Linked DNA regions of Homo sapiens: all the other regions are linked to region 2. The links are contacts of gene promoters, found by promoter capture Hi-C in human tissues and cell types (Jung and others, 2019). All regions are on one chromosome and are shown on one strand. The core of a region is centred on a gene start or on the middle of the fragment in contact, and the rest is flanking DNA. Distances in the headings are between cores, read along the strand shown.

What was found. The method cuts DNA at HindIII sites, captures the fragments that hold promoters and counts their contacts. A contact is called where the count stands out against the background at its distance.
Region 1: a contact is called between a fragment that was not itself captured here and the fragment with the promoter of PSMA8 in region 2, in 3 of the 25 tissues and cell types used here (IMR-90 fibroblasts, hippocampus and pancreas).
Region 3: a contact is called between a fragment that was not itself captured here and the fragment with the promoter of PSMA8 in region 2, in 2 of the 25 tissues and cell types used here (hippocampus and spleen).

The regions. Positions count from the first base shown.
Region 1 is chr18:25,916,511-25,919,378 of GRCh38, reverse strand. No RefSeq gene overlaps it. Among named protein-coding and RNA genes, the nearest start is that of SS18, 170 kb to the left of the region's middle. The HindIII fragment of the contact is 3,722 bases long and covers 1-2,868 here.
Region 2 is chr18:26,132,444-26,135,143 of GRCh38, reverse strand. PSMA8 (proteasome 20S subunit alpha 8) reads right to left here and starts at 1,275. Exons shown (of 7, transcript NM_001025096.2): 1 at 1,077-1,275. The coding sequence starts at 1,178. The HindIII fragment of the contact is 10,391 bases long and covers 1-2,700 here.
Region 3 is chr18:25,976,952-25,979,651 of GRCh38, reverse strand. No RefSeq gene overlaps it. Among named protein-coding and RNA genes, the nearest start is that of SS18, 110 kb to the left of the region's middle. The HindIII fragment of the contact is 4,033 bases long and covers 1-2,700 here.

The DNA of each region.
Region 1 (2,868 bases), core at 118-2,617, 220 kb after region 2:
TGCAGTGATCTTTTTTGTTTTAGAGAATTTTTGTGTTGTACAATGTACAGTCTTTGATTTGATCATTTCTGGCTTTTGTATACATTTAAAGAGGCTTCCTTCAAAACTGGAATTATAAAAATAGTTACCTATGTTTTCTTTTATTATTTTCAAGGCTTCATAATAATTTTTAAGTCTGATTTATGTGGAATTTATTTTAGTATAATAAATAAGTTAGGAATTCAAGCTTATTTATTTGGGACATAGCTACCCTATCGTTTTAGTAAAATTTAGTAAAATTGAGTTTTCCTTTCACCACTGCTTTAAAATGCCACCTTAATCGTCTACTAAATTTTTATGTCTGCTTGCCTCACACGATGGCCTGTTAGCTCAATTGGTTAGAGTGTGGTGCCAATATCTCCTTGCCTCTATTTGTGGAGTTTCTATTGGATTAACTCATCTGTTGGTCTATATACCTGTGCCACTAGCTCACTTTAAGAATGACTACAGCTTGGCCGGGCATGGTGGCTCCCGCCTGTAATCCCAGGATTTTGGGAGGCTGAGGCAGGCGGATCACCTGAGGTCAGGAGTTTGAGACCAGCCTGGCCAACAGAGCGAAACCCTGTCTCTAGAAAAAATACAAAAATTAGCTGGGTGTGGTGGCAGGCACCTCTAATCCCACCTACTCGGGAGGCTAAGGCAGGAGAATCCCTTGAACCTGGGAGTTGGAGGGTGCAGTGAGCTGAGATTGCGCCATTGCACTCCAGCCTGGGCAACAGAACGAGAATCCATCTCAGGAAAAAAAAAATGACTACAGCTCTAAGTACATTGTAATAATTGGTAGCACAAGTTCTTACACTTTCCAAGAATGTCTGGCTCTTCTTTCATTTTCGTTCTTTCAGATGGATTTTTAAAACAGTACTATCACCAGCCAGGCATTTGATTTGTTTATTATTTTTTTTTCTGTATTGATGTTTTAAGAAAATAAATTATAAACATAACATAAGCTTGCTATAACAAATTCAAACAATACAAACCAGTGGAAAATAAGCCTCGAACCACCTTCCCAAAACCCCACCCTTAACAGCACATTCCAGCCATCGCTCCTGCCAGCTGTTTGTTTAGGATTCTTTTGGACTTTCTCTTACTCTTAAGCATAAGCACACTTCATGAAGTGCCCCCAAATCCCAGTGATATTTTGACTGGGATTTCTCAATAAATATTTGTAACAAAATATTTTCATTCACATTTCTGGCTTTCAAGTCGTGTAATGCCTGAGACTTTCAGTTTCTTATATGTACACTGTTACAACACTACTTATCTACAACACAGAAATTGCATGAGACAATGCGTGATAATAAAACACGGTTCAAAAATATCTGATCATGGCATTTCTCAAAGTATGTTCTGTAATACATAGATCCTGCAATATACTCTGCAAAGAAAATAAGAGTTCCCTGGGCAAATGAGTTTGGAACATTAGGTGGTATATTTTCTTTTTTGGATATTTGTAATTCAGGGCAACATATTAGAAACCCTTAGTTCTATAAAAAAGGTTTAACTTTGTCTAACCAATGTTTTCCAAACTTGTTTGATCAGGGAAAGTATTTTGCCTATTGACACGATGCTCATAAAACACCATTTGGGAGATGCTGAGTTAGACAGATTGGATCAGCTCTTGGCTGGGGTGGGGTTGTGAAGAACCTAGAATAACTCCCAGGTCTCTGGCTTTAAGTGAATGATTGGTGATGTCACTGACTGAGGTGAAGGATAGAAGTGGAGGATCAATTTTGGACATATTGAGTTTCAATTCCTCTGGCAGGTTTGAATGGAAATGTTTAGTAAGCTGAGAATATATAGGTCTGGGACTCAGGTGACAGGTCATCACTAGAGAAACGTGGGTTAGAAAGTTTGCTTTGGATTAAAGTGTGTTGTCTAAAACAGCTCAGTTAAAAATGCACATATATTACCTAGGAAGGGTAAGCATTAAATTATTAATACATATTATATTATCATATTAGCTTACTATCATTTTAAAGCAGAGATCAGGCCCCTGAAGGAATGGAAATCAGGAATGGTGAATTTTGAGTGGAAGTCGGCCAAGAAAGAGTCTGAAGTTGTGATTTTTACCTTCTGTGGGCCCTTTTTCAATGCTAAAAAAATTTGCCAATCTCCCCACTGCCCTCACATATTAAACTTTTAATATCTTTTGACTGAGAAAATATGTCCTGACTATAACTACTATGACTTAATGTAGTTATAGTCAGGACATATTGTTCTGTACATAGAGGACATGTAAATGTATGGAATAGGTTCACATTTAGCAGGGTGTTTATCCTGCTTCCGGACAGTCAGCGTTGCTGTCCATATGGACTTCTGATCCTCCTGCCACTCCTGTGGTTCTGTTACTGAGACACCAGGGGTTCAGTCTAGGTCCTGCTGCTCACCACCCAGAAAGCCAATGACTGAGATGATCAGTATTGCCAAGGATGAAGGCTTTAATTTGGTGCTGCAGCCAAGGAGATGGGAGATCAGTCTCAAATCCTCTCCTTGACCGACTAAAAGTAGGGTTTCATACAGGAGGGAGGAAATGAAAACAAGAGCTAGGGAGGGGCAAGGAAGGATGATGATGAAGGAGGGGTCCAGCATCTCATTGTCTGGATGCCGTGATCTGGTGAGTTTCAGGTCTTTGATACTTTTTTTTGACAGGCTTGAAGGTCCTTTCCTGAGGAAAAAACAGATACAACAAATGTAAGGTTCAAGCTTTAAGACCAGCAGGGTCAATTTATATGTTTATCCAAAAAACTATCTGTGGGATTATTGGGTCCTTTTCAGTTCCAGGCTAAGGCAGATTTATAAGATGTCACTTTTAGTTCTGAGTAAACACTG
Region 2 (2,700 bases), core at 26-2,525:
ACTCCTACCCTGAGTATTTTTTAAGTTTTTCAGTAATGTGGATACATAAATCTAAGGTAGGGTGTAATCTCTCAAGGAACTTCCAGCATTATTTTTTAAGTGGCCAAAAAAGTGGAAGTTCTTGGACTTTTGAGCCTCTACAAGGCTGGGAAATATTGGGACAATTTTGGGATTTTTTTTTTTTTTCCCGAGACGGAGTTTCGCTTTTGTTGCCCAGGCTGGAGTGCAATGGCACGATCTCGGCTCACCGCAACCTCTGCCTCCCAGGTTCAAGCGATTCTCCCGCCTCAGCCTCCCGAGTAGCTGGGATTACAGGCATGCGCCACCACGCCTGGCTAATTTTGTATTTTTAGTAGAGACGGAGTTTCTCCATGTTGGTCAGGCTGGTCTCAAACTCCCGACCTCAGGTGATCCGCCCTCCTGGGCCTTCCAAAGTGCTGGGATTACAGGTGTGAGCCACTGCGCCCAGCAATTTTGGGATATTTTTAACGCGTGTGTTTGAACTGTGTTTTTAATCATTTCTTCATCAACAAAAGTTTAATTTTATATTGATTTAGTCCGTATTTGGGGAGCAGGTGTGGCCAACTTTTATTTTTTATTGTAACTGTTATTAAAAAACAGTTCCCAACATGAAGCAACTGTTAACTTTTCCAGGGGTCTCTGAACTACCAAGGAACTGGACCACGAGCGTTCAATAGGTAGGCTGTTACAGATTAGAAGCTTTCCCTATTGTCAATCACATCATTAACGTCCCTACACACACACACACACACACAGAGACACACACACACACACACACACACCCACACACACACCCTAGTTTTGCGTCTGTAGCTACCATGAAACAGAGGCAGTTGAACAGCAGAGATAGGGGAAATCTACTAACTTTTACTCTGCCCACTTCCGGCCCAAATCTAGAAGTCTGTCTCCCTAAATAAAAAGAACAAAGTAATTTTCACAAGTGTGGGAATCTCCTCTCTTGAGCTCCTAGGATGGAAAGGTGGGCTGGGGCAGCAGGGTAACGATGGCCTGACAGGTCAGAGCGGGGAATAGTCCGGTAATAGTTGCTTCCTCACCGCGGTGGATCCTTTCTTCACCGCTTCCTGGGCATATTCAACTTGAAAAAGGTGTCCGTCTGGGGAGAAGACAGTGATCGCCCTGTCATATCGAGACGCCATCGCACAGGACTACAAGGGCTTGCCACCGAGCTTCCCGCTGCTGCAGCTGAGGCAAGCGGGGAGCCGCCGCCAACACAGCGTGCTACCGCCCGGAAGCGCTTCCACACGCGCCTCAAGCTGCCTCCCGGAAGTCCCCGCGCCCGCGCTTCGGCTGCTTCACGGAAGTCCTTGCTCCTTTGGCTGCCTGCGGATGTCCTCGCGCTTGCCAGCCTTTGTCACCCAAGCAGTGCCTGTGAGTTGACGGCATTCTTCCCTTACCCTTCATGTCTGACGCATAGCGCATATCTCCATTTCCCCACTACCGTGTTGCCCCAGGGATGGTGTCACGGCACTCGAGTTATAAAAATAATATCAAAGATTAGGGCTTAAAAATGAGGTCTTCAAATATCAGATATTTTTGTTATCGCATACATGTTGGAGAAACTGTGGTAAGTTAAATATCAGTCCCTTCCCTTTGGTTTCAAATTCTAAATTTCCTACTTTTTCTTTCTCTCTCTCAGGTTAACTCTTGTTATTTGAACCGAAGGAAAGAAAGCAAACTTCAAAATATTGTTGCTTCTGATATTTTCTGCCTTGTGAGCAAAATAGAGCAGATGAGCAAATGGTCCGTTAAATAAAGCAAATAGTCCATCAAACTAAGCTAATGATGAGAATTAAGATAATGTTCTTTTTTTTGTTTTGTTTTGTTTTTTGTTTTTTGAGACGGAGTCTCGCTCTGTCGCCCAGGCTGGAGTGCAGTGGTGCAATCTCGGCTCACTGCAAGCTCCACCTCCCGGGTTCACGCCATTCTCCTGCCTCAGCCTCCGGAGCAGCTGGGACTACAGGCGCCCGCCACCACGCCCGGCTAATTTTTTATATTTTTAGTAGAGACTGGGTTTCACCGTGTTAGCCAGGATGGTCTTGATCTCCTGACCTCGTGATCCGCCTGCCTCGGCCTCCCAAAGTGCTGGGATTACAGGCGTGAGCCACCGCGCCCGGCCCAGATAATATTCTTTTAATTGGAGAAATTTTGTAAAAGCCCAAAGTATGAGACTTAAAAGATGTCTGGAAATTTAGCTATAGCAGAAACTCTTTACAACTTGCTACATTACTAACTATGAAACAACTCTGTCGCTTTCTCCTTATCAATAAAATGGGAATATTAAAAAATCTGCAGCAGAGTATTCTGAGCTTAATATGTGTTTATGGGCATAATTACATAAAATGGTGCCTGGTGGGCAGTAATAGCCAGGTAAGTTTAGCTATTATTGCTTTCCATGTGTTGTTTAATATATGCAGTTTTCCACTGGGGAGGATCTTAAAGTTGGTGAAATCAACTTTAACCAAAAAAAAGAAAAAAAGAATAATTTCCTCAAAAGAGGAAAAATTTGATTCCCTGAATTCCAAATACTTAAATCAGAATTTTAATTGACTTAAACAATTTATTTAATTATTAATACTTTTTTTTTTAACGTAGGGACTTGGTTTCCCTATGTTGCCCAGGCTGGTCTCAAACTCCTGGTCTCAAGCAATCCTCCTGCCT
Region 3 (2,700 bases), core at 200-2,699, 160 kb after region 2:
TTCAGAATCAATTTGAAGGGAGCTGACTTCATACACTGAATAGAGATCTCAGCCCATAATCTTGGGTTCCTGAGCACACAGCACCAGTTTAGCTTCTAATTTACTCTCGGGTGACTTAATGGTATTGCTTAATTATAGCAGTTGCAAATTCCACCCCCCAAAATATATCACAGGCAGCCAAACATCTGCAGGGTTTTGTAATAGGGAGGATGCCAAAATGAAATGCTCATTTTTTGTATTATTTTGCTTTTATTAGTTTTTAATACATATATGTAATAAACAAGATGAGCAAGACAACATTTAAATATGCACCAATGGTAATCAAATGTAAGATATTAAGTTCGAAAAATGCCCATTCTATGGAAAGGAATATGCTCCTCGGGAGAATCGAGGCTGTGGCAGGGGACATTTTAAAATAACATGAACTTCTCAGTGATATAATAGAAACAGGAAGACTCCTCAACATAGCAACTGTAGATCAGAGCCAGAGAAAACCCTCTGCAATGTACCAAATGCCAGCAAAACATTTGTTTTTTTTCTGTGAAGAGGAAGGCCAACTCCTGACTAATTGAAACCCCTCTTTTACCCAATCCTGGATCTTCAAGAAAGGATTAGAAAGGAAAAGTGCTGTCAACAAACTCAGAAAATTAAAAATGAAGTTATCTGTGGTTTGTCTCAAGCTTGTAACTGACAAATAGAAATGAAAATAGTATGTGGTTTTTTGGTTTTTTGTTTATTTTTGAGACAGAGTCTTGCTCTGTTACCCAGGGTGGAGTGCAGTGGCGCGATCTCGGCTCACTGCAAACTCCACCTCCCGGGTTCCAGAGATTCTCCTTCCTCAGCCTCCCCAGTAGCTGGGATTACAGGCCTGCACCATCACGCTGAACTAATTTTTGTGTTTTTGTAGAGACAGGGTTTCACCATGTTGGCCAGGCTGGTCTCAAACTCCTGACCTCGTGATCCACCCACCTCAGCCTCCCAAAGTGCTGGGATTACAGGCATGAGCCACTGAGCCTGGCCTAATGTTTATCTTTAATAAAAGATATTTGCAAGATGAGCATTAAATATAACTATCATTTCCAGAAATTAAATTTATACTTTATGTAGCAAAGTAATGAATAATATAATTTTACATGCAAGAAGACAGTGTTTGAAAAAAATATTTTTGGGGCTGTTTTTTCTATATTTTGTTACCAAAAGATATGCCCCATTATTGACAAAAATATGTATATATTTCTGAATTGTATAGTGTTTTGTTTTGTTTTGAGACAGAGTCTCCCTCTGTTGCCCAGGCTGGAGTACAGTGGTGCAATCTCGGCTCACTGCAACCTCCATGTCCCCGGATCAAGCAATTCTCCTGCCTCAGCCTCCCGAGTAGCTGGGATTACAGGCACACGCCACCATGCCCGGTTAAGTTTTGTATTTTCAGTAGAGAAGATGGGGTTTCACCATGTTGGCCAGGCTGATCTCAAACTCCCGACCTCAAGTGATCCACCCACCTTGGCCTCCCAAAGTGCTGGTCAATTGTATAGTGTTAAAAAGAGAAGAATATTCTTTACCCTAATGCCTTAAAAACACCCTACAAACAAAACTTCAAACTTCACCAATGACTCATCTCTTTTATGCAAAAATATTTGTATAAATTTTTTTGAATGAAAGAAAAGAAGAAGAAAGAAAAGCACAAAATATAAAAAAATAGGCAATTAAAAAAATTGCTTTTGTGTATGCTCAGCAGGGATCTGGTAAAAATTAAACTGAGGCTAATGAAGCTCCAAGCCCCCGCATAACGCCACAGAGGGAGGAAGACTGAATATTGCCTGCTATGAGGCAAACTGCTTAAGGAGCTTTGTGAAAGTCTCACTGAAACCAACTTAGCAAATGCTCCTGTCCCAAAGCCTTTATGATGATCATCTCCAATCAGATAATGTTCCTGCCACCATGGAGCTAGGTGCCACTCCAGTGCATGCGAAGTCACCTCGGTGAGGTGTTAACTTGAAAGTCAAGGGAGACTAGTAAGTGGGTCTTATTAAACAATCCAGGACTCTAGGCTCTCGTTGATCCCCGTGTGGGTGCTAGGCATGTAGATGGTTCATTAGAAGACTCACCCGTTTGCTTTTCTGAGCCCAGTTGTGTATTTTTTGTAAACCCAGGCAGCTTCCAGCAAAACGGAAGTTTTGGTTTCCTGCCTTTTCTGTGGCTTGCAACCATATTCAAGCCTTTCCTGGAGGATTTGCAGAGCCTCCCACCATAGAAATCTCCCAAGTGCTGGCCTTCCTGAGACCAGAGCTCATGCATCATTGTCACCAGATTTATCCCCTGTGTTCTATTCCCTCTAGGTCTTTTCTGGAGACTTGCTTGCTAATTTCAGATAGACCACTGGAAGTGTGGTCCTCAGCCCAGCAGCATCACAACACCTGAGAGCTCGTTAGAAATGCACAAACTGGCCAGGTGTGATGGTTCATGCCTGTAATCCCAGCACTTTGAGAGGCTGAGGTGGGCTCATCACTTGAGGTCAGGAGTCCGAGACCAGCCTGGCCAACATGGCGAAACCCCATCTCTACTAAAAAATACAAAAATCAGCTGGGTGTGGTGGCAGGTGCCTACAATTTCAGCTACTCAGGAGGCTGAGGCACGAGAAGCGCTTGAACCTGGAAGACAGAGGTTGCAGTGTGCCGAGATTGCACCACTGCACTCCAGCCT